2 separate regions of the Homo sapiens genome follow, and region 1 is linked to region 2. Evidence: promoter capture Hi-C in 16 types of primary human blood cells and fetal thymus (Javierre and others, 2016). All regions are on one chromosome and are shown on one strand. Each heading gives the region's core, a stretch centred on a gene start or on the middle of the fragment in contact. The rest is flanking DNA. Distances are from core to core; before and after follow the strand shown.

Evidence for each region. Contacts are between HindIII fragments. The CHiCAGO score rates a contact against its expected background, and 5 or more counts as called.
Region 1: a contact is called between the fragment with the promoter of LCN10 here and the fragment with the promoter of NELFB in region 2, in 9 of 17 cell types (naive CD8 T cells, activated CD4 T cells, total B cells and 6 more). The highest score is 9.7, in naive CD8 T cells.

The regions. Positions count from the first base shown.
Region 1 is chr9:136,741,365-136,745,245 of GRCh38, forward strand. LCN10 (lipocalin 10) reads right to left here and starts at 1,576. Exons shown (of 6, transcript NM_001001712.3): 1 at 1,423-1,576; 2 at 517-656. The coding sequence starts at 1,539. It overlaps LCN6 (lipocalin 6), which reads right to left. Exons shown (of 7, transcript NM_198946.3): 4 at 3,806-3,881; 5 at 3,276-3,377; 6 at 2,975-3,000; 7 at 2,653-2,778. The coding sequence ends at 3,298. RefSeq lists a silencer at 981-1,080. The HindIII fragment of the contact is 7,084 bases long and covers 1-3,881 here.
Region 2 is chr9:137,251,221-137,257,188 of GRCh38, forward strand. It overlaps NELFB (negative elongation factor complex member B), which reads left to right and starts at 4,107. Exons shown (of 13, transcript NM_015456.5): 1 at 4,107-4,391; 2 at 4,687-4,850; 3 at 5,109-5,208; 4 at 5,604-5,834. The coding sequence starts at 4,146. STPG3 (sperm-tail PG-rich repeat containing 3) reads left to right here and starts at 66. Exons shown (of 6, transcript NM_001004353.4): 1 at 66-176; 2 at 518-675; 3 at 781-915; 4 at 1,217-1,305; 5 at 1,442-1,745; 6 at 1,895-2,263. The coding sequence starts at 67. The coding sequence ends at 2,025. It overlaps STPG3-AS1 (STPG3 antisense RNA 1), which reads right to left and starts at 2,277. Exons shown (of 4, transcript NR_038389.1): 1 at 1,943-2,277; 2 at 1,655-1,755; 3 at 1,171-1,286; 4 at 1-147. It also overlaps a transcript of CIMIP2A not described here. RefSeq lists silencers at 3,475-3,654, 3,845-4,214, 4,225-4,404, 4,445-4,504 and enhancers at 3,515-4,462, 4,463-5,410. The HindIII fragment of the contact is 15,726 bases long and covers 1-5,968 here.

The DNA of each region.
Region 1 (3,881 bases), core at 326-2,825, 510 kb before region 2:
GGGCCAAGGCGGGGGCTCAGGCTGCAGACCAGGGAACCCCTCCTCCCGCCTGCCAGCCACCGAGCCCCACCCACACGTCTCGGTCCCGCCCCTGCTCCCGTGGGACCCGGGAAGGTTGGGGCCCCAGGTCCCCAGTTTTTTGCTTCACTATCCAACTCGTGTCAATCTGAGGCTCTGTGGTTTGAGGATTTTCCAATTCGGACTGGGGCCTGTCCCACGGCACGAGAGAAACTCCCAACACCCACCCGTGTGGGGCCCAGGAGCTGCAAGCGGCTTCCTCCCAACACCTACCCATGTGGGGTCCCAAGGTCTGCAGGCAGCTTCCTCCCAACACCCACCCATGTGGGGTCCCAGGGGCTGCAGGTGGCTTCCTCTGAGTTTAGGGGGAGGAAGTGGGGGGACGGTTCTTGTGGAACTTCCAGACAGACAGGCTCCTCCCAGACTCCTTTCCAGCCCCGAGGCAGCTCCCTCCTCCTGGAAGGGGAGACCCTTGCCTGGGGGGCGCTGCCCACTCACCGTCTGAAGGCGAGGAGCACGCGGAGCTGGCCCACTTTGTTCACCTTTACCACGGACGCCCCCAGCTTCCTCTTGTCCCTGGCCGGCAAGAATCCCTGGGCATCAGTGGCAGTGGCCAGAATGTACCAGAACCCTGAAAACTGCGCAGCGGATGTGTGGGCGGGGACAGGAGCTGCCACCGGGGGCTGTCCCCACCCCCGAGGTTCCCAGCTAGAGAACCCAGGAGACAAATGACCCTTCTGTGAGCCGGAGTCCCAGCTCCGCCCAGGTGCCGCCTCGGTCCCGGCCACTCAAGCCCTGGCCACTGGAGCAGGGCTGCAGAGAAGCAGGTGCCCGGCTGGTCAGGGACCCCAGGCAGCAAAGGGCTGGGCTGTGGGCGCCAGCAGGTGGGAGGCCCCCTACCTCAGAGGCCCCGGCTCCTTCCCACATGGCCTCCTGGGGGCTGGGTACTGCTCGGCCACTTCCCTTCCTGCCGGCCCCCGGCCCCCAACTCTGCCTGCTGCCAACCCTAGCGCCCTGGGCACCGCCGTGCCAATGAGTGCTGCTCCCACGGCTCACTCAGCAGGTGCCCGGGCCCTCCCGCTACAGAATATGCCCCGCTTGCTCCACACCCACTCTGCACTCTGGGCGTCTCCCGACCTCCTCGGCCACAGCTCTCTGGGCCCCTCCACCCTGGCCCTCCCTGACCCCCCTGGGCCCCCGAACCCCCTCGAGGCTCCCTGCCTTTGCCCTGCAACTTGCGGGGCCCCTGTGCTGGAGGCTGCAGTGGGAGAGGCCAGGTGGGCAGCGCCCGTGCCTGGAACTGCTGGTAGCCCTGCTCCTGGGCGGCTGCCGGGAGACTGTGCAGGAGCCTGCTCCAGCTCCAGAGCCGGCGCCCGGCTCAGGGACCAGTGGCACATGGCTCACCTTGTTCCAGTTGAGGGCGTGGGACTCCCTGGGGTACCACTCCTGCACCTGGGACCCTGCAGCCAGCACTAGCACCAGCACCAGCACCAGCGCCAGCACCAGCAGCCCCTGCCTCATCTTCACCCTCCTCCCTCAGCCGCCAAGGCCAGTGTTTAAACCTCTCTGGAGCCGCCAGCCTGTGTCGGGAGAGGAGGGAGGGGAGGGAGCGGAGGGAGGCAACAGGTGTGGCCTTGGGCTCTGCTACCCTCTCCCCGCCCAGGGACCACCCCCAGACACTCCAGGGAAGCCGGCACTGCCCCACCTGGTGGTCACTGCTGGCCTGGGCTGCCCTGGCAGACAGAGGCCCCTCTGAGGCCCCAGGACCCTCCTGCCCTCAGTGCCCGGCCTGGGGTCACTGTGTGTGCCCCTGAGACTCATTAAGCCCTGGCCCTCATCCTAGACCTCCCAGGTGACAGGCAAAGGGCTGGTCGTGGCCCTTCTGGGGCAGATGTGGACATGGTGAGCTCTGCGCGGCAGCCACACACACAGCCCCCACCACCTTCTTGAGGGCCTGGCACCAAGCACCTGAGCAGGTGCCGAAGGGCGGGCCGGGGCTGTGTGCCCGTGCCCATGAATGTGTGTGTGTGCATGTGTGGGTGTGTGCTCACATGTGCATGCGTGTGCATGCCCAGCCTTGCAGGTCAAGGCATCTGTGTGCACCTCGCCTCACTCCAGCATGAGCCTCACACAGTCCCCAGCCCCCCATCCAGCCCCGAGACCCCCATGGCCTGTGCTTCTCCCAGGACGGCAGGCAGCGCAGCCCCCCACACCCATCAGAACACAGGAGGACCTGCAGGCTCAGGTGTCTGGGGTCCCTGCCCCTGCCCAGGCAAGAGACACAACCCCAGCCCAGAGAAGCCTGAGCCTGGGGAGTCAGGGGCTGCTCTGAGCCCCACCAGCCACCTCTCTCTTGTCCTGGGCAGTCCTTGGAGCCTCTGGCACCCCAGCTGCGGTCCTGGTGGAGCTCACTGCTGGCTTCCTCCCAGGCTGTGTCCTCTGACCAGCCCCCGCCTCTGAGCCCGGGCCTGAGTTTGGGTGTCTGAAGACCCAGAGGGGCTCTGGCAAGGGACTGGGTTGGGCACGCGTCTTCTTTGCAGCTGGCTCTATGGTTCTGTGGCTTGGCCCTTGGTGACGACCCCCGCCATCCTCCCCGCAATTCCCCGGCTGGCCCCCAGTCAAAAGCATCCTTGGTTTGCTGTGGAATCGCTTTATTCTGAGCTGGTGCTGGGCCCCGGGAGCCGCTGAGCGAGGTGGGTGGACACTGGCCGAGGTCACAGGACCCTGTGGGCGCCATCCCTACTGGGGACGCAGCACTCACTGAAAACCAAGAGGAGTGTGAGGGGGCCCAGCCCACCATGGAGGCTCCTCCACACCCTCAGCTGCCTTAGAGACAGTGGAGCCATGAACCCCGTGGGCTTGGGCAGAGGGTCCTCCCACCCACTGTGCGTAGGGTGGCCTCCCCCACCCCCTTCCCCCAAGAGAGCCCAGGGTGAGGCTCAGGATGGCGGCTTACCAGAAGGATCTTGTGAGCACAGGTGACTAGAAGGGGAGGCAAGACTGGCTGTGAAAAAGGACTGAGCCCCCCAGCACCCCAGGGCCCCACCCACAAGACTCGCCTGCCGTGGGGACAAGACCCCCAGGCCTGACTTTGGGCAGGGGCAGGTGAAGACCCCCTCAGCCTGCCTGACTCCTTCAGGGCGACTGAGTCAGGCAGAAGCCAGAATCAACCCCAGGGTCTCTGTCACCCCATCACGCCCTGTGGGCTCCAGAACTTGCCCCAAGCCTCCCCCGAGGCTGCTCCGGTGGACACTCACGGTCCTTCTGCAGCTGGGCCTGCTACTGTGACAGGAAGCCCAGGCTCCTGCTCCACTTGGTGAAGAGCCCCATGGCCTCCTGGCTGGCTGTCTCCGTCAGACCTGGGGGCACCAGGGCAGTGCAGGGGGAAGCAACCTCTGAGAGCTGGGGAGGGGCCGGGGAGGGGCTGGGAAGGGTCAGGAAGGAGGCCACCTGCCCTGGGATGCTGGCCCCGGTCCTTCCAAAGCCACCTCCAGTGCAGCGAGCCTCAAGGTGGGGGAACTTGGCCTGCATGTGGTCCTGTGCGGCCCACCCACCACACAGCTCCCCACATGGCCCCCGAGCGGCCCACTCACCACACAGCTCCCCATGTGGCCCCAAGCGGCCCACTCACCACACAGCTCCCCACATGGCCCCCGAGCGGCCCACTCACCACACAGCTCCCCACGCGGCCCCCAAGCGGCCCACGCACCACACAGCTCCCAACGTGGGCCCCGAGTGGCCCACGCACCACACAGCTCCCTACGTGGGCCCCGCACAGCACACTTACTGTACAGCTCCACGGTGTTGAAGGGCTCGTCCCCGAACTCCAGCTGAGTGAAGATGATGGCATAGTCTCTGAAGTT
Region 2 (5,968 bases), core at 2,857-5,356:
GAGGGGCCTACCAGTGAGGTCACAGAGCTCCGTGGTGCCGTTGGGGAAGAGAGCCAGGAGACTCTGATGATGAATTCTGACCAGAAGGCAGTGAAATTCCTGGCAAATTTTTACATCAATGGAGGCAAACACTGGACCCATGGTCACCTGAGGCAGACACAACCAGAGCCCACCCAGTAACTGGCGGAGAGGGGGAGAAGGGGCGGGCCAGCTGGGAGTGGCCAGGGGGCTGAGGGACAGTGTGGGGGGCAGGTTGCTGGGCAGGCGGCTGGGGGACTGAGGGACAGTGTGGGGACAGGCTGTGGGGCAGGCGGCTGGGAGCGGCCAGGGGCTGAGGGACAGTAGAGGGGACAGGCGGCTGGGAGCGGCCAGGGGCTGAGGGACAGTGTGGGGACAGGCTGTGGGGCACGTGGCTGGGAGCAGCCGGGGGCTGAGGGACAATAGAGGGGACAGGCTGTGGGGCATGTGGCTGGGAGCGGCCGGGGGCTGAGACAGTGGCTGCTGGTCTCCCTTGCAGGCCCAAGGCATCTGTGCTGTTGTTGGGCCCGGAGCCGGGGATGGCCTGGGATGAGACACAGCCCCCAAAGATGAAGGAGATCCCAGTTGGCCTCAGGTTACAGACGGGCACCCCCCAGGAGTCCCTGCCCACCTACACCCAGACCCTGAGGGAACTATGTGAGTGAGGGTCCTGGCCACCCCACCCCCAAGCTGGTCTTTGGGGGGCTGTGGGAGGGGCCCGCTGAAAGGAGCCCAGGCCCAGAGCTTGCTTCCTGTGGCCAGTGCTGGAGCAACGCCCCCTGATCACAGCTGACCTGGAAGTCCCCAGCCCCACCAGGTACCAGGTGCCGAGCCCGTCCGTACGAGAGTCCTCCCCACACCCCCACTACAGCATCGGCTGCAAGCACCAGGGCCGAGGTGTGTGTCCCCTCCCTGAGGCCCAACCACCGGGCCTGTCCCTCACCCTGGGAATGGGGGCCTTTGCCTCTGTGCTGAAACCCCCACGGCCTGAGGGCCCCTCCACCCTTCCCTGCGTTCACCTCTAGGCTCAGCACCTGTAAGGAGGCCTGGAGAGAGGAGGGCTAGGGCTGGGGCATGGGTGGACATTGTGAAGACAAGGGTTCAGGGGCCGAGGGTGGGAACCGGGAGACAGGTTCGAGTGGGGACTGTCACCTGGGTGGGGCTCCCAGCCTTCTCTCTCTCCATCCTCCAACTACAGAGGGCGGTGGCCGCAGGGCATGGCAGACTTTGTGGTTCCAGAGCGAAAGCCCCTTCACGCAGAAAGCTGACTTCGACCAAGAGCAAAAGGTTGGGGGCTGGGCAGGAAGGGGGCGGGGAGTCCACGCAGGCAGGGGGCTGGGGGTTCCAGTGGGGCCAAAGGGGGGCTGGCTGAGGGTCCGTGGGGAGCACCCTGCCCTGCAGCCCGTCTCCTACCCCCTCGCAGTGGCCCTCGCCAGCCCACTACCAGCTGCTCAGCCGGCCCGCCTTCCCCGCCTTCAGCTTCAGAGGCTGCCACTCCGCTTCCAAGACACCTGAAGGCCACACCCACCTAGGGCTGCCTGGGGCTAGGGGGCTGGGCCTCAGGGTGCAGCCCCAGTCCCTGCTTCAGGCCTCTTTGCAGGCACCTGGCAAGAGATGCCCTGGCCCCAACACCTACAATATCCTTCCTGGGAGCCGCCTGCAGAGCCCCCGCTCGCCGGCCTTCTCGATGAGCCGCTCCCCTGCGTTCACCTCCTGGCTCAGCACCTGTAAGGAGGCCTGGAGAGAAGAGGGCTAGGGATGGGGCATGGGTGGGCAATGTGAGGACAAGGGTTCAGGGGCCGGGGGTGGGAACTGGGAGCCAGGTTTGAGTTGGGGCTGCTACCTGGGTGGGGCTCCCAGCCTTCTCTTTCGGCAGCCCGAACCCCTGGCCCAGCCGCCTACCACGTGGAGGACTGCAACTCACGCTTCCCTTCGGCGCCTGGCGTGGTCATCCAGGGTGTACGCAGACCCAAGCGCCACGACACAGGCCCCTTCTGCACGCTCTAGAGCCAGCTGGGCACAACCTGCTTGGCCCGGCCACCGAGTGGAACCATGGCCTCCCCCGGGGCTTTCCCAGGCCTCCCCTGGGACTTGGGGCCCCAGCCTGGCCTTCTGACCCTCTGGGCACCCCGATGCACCCTTCTGGCTGGCCAACCCTTCTATGGGCTGTGGACAAGGCTGGCCCAGCCTGGATCCCCCATCTGCCCATCTCCCCGCTACACTGAGATGCTGTTGGTTTTCCCGAGCTCTGTGGTGTGCAGTTGTCTGTCCTTCACCCGGGGGCGGTCCTAGAGATATGGCTGCCGCTGGGTCATTTCCGGCTTTCCCTGTTGAGGGGTCTCCATTCAGCTGCCCCTGAAAGGTGCTCTCTTCTCTAGGGTGGCAGCCTGTGACTGACCCTGAGCTCTAGCCTGGAGCGAGATGGGAGGTGGGCTCTGTGGGACACCCCCACCCAGCCGTGTCACTCAGGGGCCTGGTCTAGCTGCTGTCCACCTGAGGGTCAGCTGCTTGCCGAGCCAGGGAACTGGGAAGGAGGCGTCAAATGCCCTGAGCCGCCACCTCCAGGTGGGGTCGGCCTGGCCAGACCTCAGGAAGGGCCCAGGGATCTGCTCACCAGGGCCCAGCCCCACTTCCCCTAGGCCTTGAGCTGAAGACCTGGCTGGGCTTAGTCACCTGTGCCCTGAACACTCTGGCCCAGGGCCCTGCAGACTCCACTCCCGGGGCCTTCACCTGCTGGGACCCTGCACTGCCCCTGCCTGCAACTTCGCCTGGCTGGGGCCTCCCTTGTCATCACTGGCCTGCCCTCCTACCCAGGGTCGGGCCCCAAGGCTGCCACCTTGCAGGAGCCTTACCTGCGGTGCCGTCACCCGCACCTCCCCAGGTCCTCCCCAGACCCAGGACCCAGACCAGGCCCAGAGCTCAACCCCTTCAAAAAGGCTCTGGGCAGCTGCTTCTGTGGCCTCAGCACCACCCCCTTTCTCAGAGAGGAATCCCAGGCTCAGGATTGTGTGTGTGCTGTGACCCTTGTCCTCCTCTGCCACCGAACCAGCTGGGGGTTGGATCAAGGCACTGGAACCCTCGCCCTAGGGCTGACCAACTTGGCCAGCGGCAAGAGAGCTGTGGTAGCCATGGCCTTGGGAGCTCGGCCCGGCTTGTGGGAACAGGAGCTCTGCTCACGGCTGCACCACCAGGCACCCCTGGTGAGACCCAAAGCTAGGAGTGGGAGCGGCAGGAAAGATGGAGCGATCTCCTCCAGCTGGGCTGAGGAGGGAGGGCTTCCTGGAGGAGGTGGTGGAGGAAGAAGCCTTCAAGGAAGAGCAAGAGTTTGCTGGGCAGCGGGAAAGAAATTTCTAGAGAAAATTTCAGCAGCGGAGACCGAAAAGAGAGAGGGTGTGTGTAGGGGGCTTGGCGCGGCACAGCCTGCGGGAGGGCGGCGGGCTGGAGAGGCGGGGAGGCCCGGGGAGCCCACCCGCCTGGGATAAGAAGGGACACTGTGGAACCTGGACTCTCCTTCACGGCTCCGCGGAGCTCGGTGGGCGCCACAGCCTCCCGGTGCCTGGGAGGGCGGCCGTCGCTCGCGCTCCCGCTGCGGGCCCGGTCTCCGCCAGGCCCCGGCCCCCTGAAGGCGCTCAGATCTCAGTTTTGGCGACAGCGCCGGGGTGGGCTTCGTGCCCGTTTCACGCGGAGGAACCCACGCTCAGGAGGGAGTCTGCGCCTGTGTCCGGCCCCTGCGGGGCAGAGGGGCGGGGAGCTCAACCCCCGGCAAAACGTCCCCGCTGCGCGTGGCTGCCGCGAGATCTGCAAGAGCGTTTTCCACGCTTATGTACACGAAATTCACTCGGCTGCGACGACGTCCGTTCCCGGAGCAGACGGACCCTGAGTCCGCCCCCCACGCCCTCACCCGCCCTCTTCTGCCAGAAAGCCCGGGCGCGGGCGGGACCGGGTGGGCGCATGCGCGCTGGGCTGGCTGGGCGGGGTCTCTCGCGCCGGGTGAGGGCGCTGCTCCCAGGAACCTGCGCGCGGCCCCGGCGGCGTTTCCCGGGGGCCGGTTGGCGGGCGGACCTGGGCGGTGCGGGGCGGAAGTGGGCGGCTGCGGGACGCGCGCGGAGTCGCGCGGCGGGCGGGACCTGGCCGAGCTGGAGGGCGCCGGGGAGCGGGGCTCGGGCGGTCCCCGAGGCCCGGCGGAGCGGGCTTCTGGGGTGTCTGCGGCGGCGCCGGGGGAACGGGCTGGGGATGGGGCGCCTAGCCGGGCGGTGGCCGGGGCCTCGGCCATGTTCGCGGGGCTGCAGGACCTGGGCGTGGCCAACGGCGAGGACCTGAAGGAGACCCTGACCAACTGCACGGAGCCGCTCAAGGCCATCGAGCAGTTCCAGGTGGGGCGGCCCCCGGGGCGGGGGGAGCCCAGTTGGAGGGCCGGGCCGCCTGCTCGGGAGTCGGGCCTGGCGGAGGCGCCGGAAGTTTTCCGGCTTTCTGCTGGTGGCTGAGTCCTGTTCTGGGGGTGGAGTCCGGAGCCAGCACCCCTTTGCTGGACGGCTGGGTGGCTTTCGGTGGCTGCGGTTACCGCCAGCACGGCTGGGAACACCTGGGTGCGTGCCTCCCTGTGCTCTCAGGACCTCGGGGTGCCCGGGCGCACTGGGCTGCGTTTGAGGTTTCTCTTGGCTTCCTCAGACAGAGAATGGTGTGCTGCTGCCATCTCTTCAGTCAGCCCTCCCCTTCTTGGACCTGCACGGGACGCCGCGGCTGGAGTTCCACCAGTCGGTATTCGATGAGCTGCGGGACAAGCTGCTGGAGCGAGTGTCAGCCATCGCTTCGGAGGGGAAGGCTGAGGAAAGGTGGGTCAGCGGGAGGGGTGGGCAGGTGAGATGTGCAGCCGGCCTCTCAGCCTTGGATCGACTCAGGGGCATTTATTGTCCTTTTGGCTCCACATCCTTGCTCCCAGAGGTGGCCTGGGCCTGTGTCTGAGTGACCCCTTGACCCATGTGTCCTGGGCGTGGAGGCTTGTCCTGGTAGCTGTTATCTGTGTAGGGACAGGCAGGTAGCTGCTGCGATTTGGCGCATCGCTGCACCATCAATCCTGTGAGTTGTTCCAGGTACAAGAAGCTGGAAGACCTTCTGGAGAAGAGCTTTTCTCTGGTGAAGATGCCGTCCCTGCAGCCCGTGGTGATGTGCGTCATGAAGCACCTGCCCAAGGTAGGGCCCTAACCCTAACCCTGATGGCGTGGACCGTCCGCCCACTCTCATGCCCTTGGTTAGTGGAAGTTCCGGTGGCCGCCTAGCTCCGGGAGCTTCCTGTGCTGCCTGCCCAAGTGCTGTCCATGGTGAGCTCTGTGCTGACTTCTCCCACATGAGCCGCGTGGAGACCGAACCTTAGCACTGGAGTTAGGGTGTGGGGCCCCTCCTGGGAAAGAGCTGTTGGTATTTAGCATGTCTGTCTGACATGCTGGGGCCGGGGAACCAGTCATAGGTGCCCTGTGGGGTGGAGCTTAGCTCGAGGTGGTCTCTGCGGGGCTGAGGCCTCTTGGCTTGTCTTGAAGGAGACCCAGGGACACAGGTGCCACTCACAGGCAGCCTGTGGTGTCATGTAGGTTCCGGAGAAAAAACTGAAGCTGGTTATGGCTGACAAGGAGCTGTATCGAGCCTGCGCCGTGGAGGTGAAGCGGCAGATCTGGCAAGACAACCAGGCCCTCTTCGGGGACGAGGTTTCCCCACTCCTGAAGCAGTACATCCTGGAGAAGGAGAGCGCTCTCTTCAGTACAGAGCTCTCTGTCCTGCACAACTTTTTCAGTCCTTCCCCCAAGACCAGGCGCCAGGGCGAGGTGAGGGGACAGGCCGTGTGCGGGGTGGGGCACCTCTTGGGGATGCCACGGCTAGCGCCTTCAGCTGCCTGGGGATCAGCACTCTGCTGCCCTGTGAATGATCGGGTGGTTCTGCTTCTTGGCTGGGTGGTGGG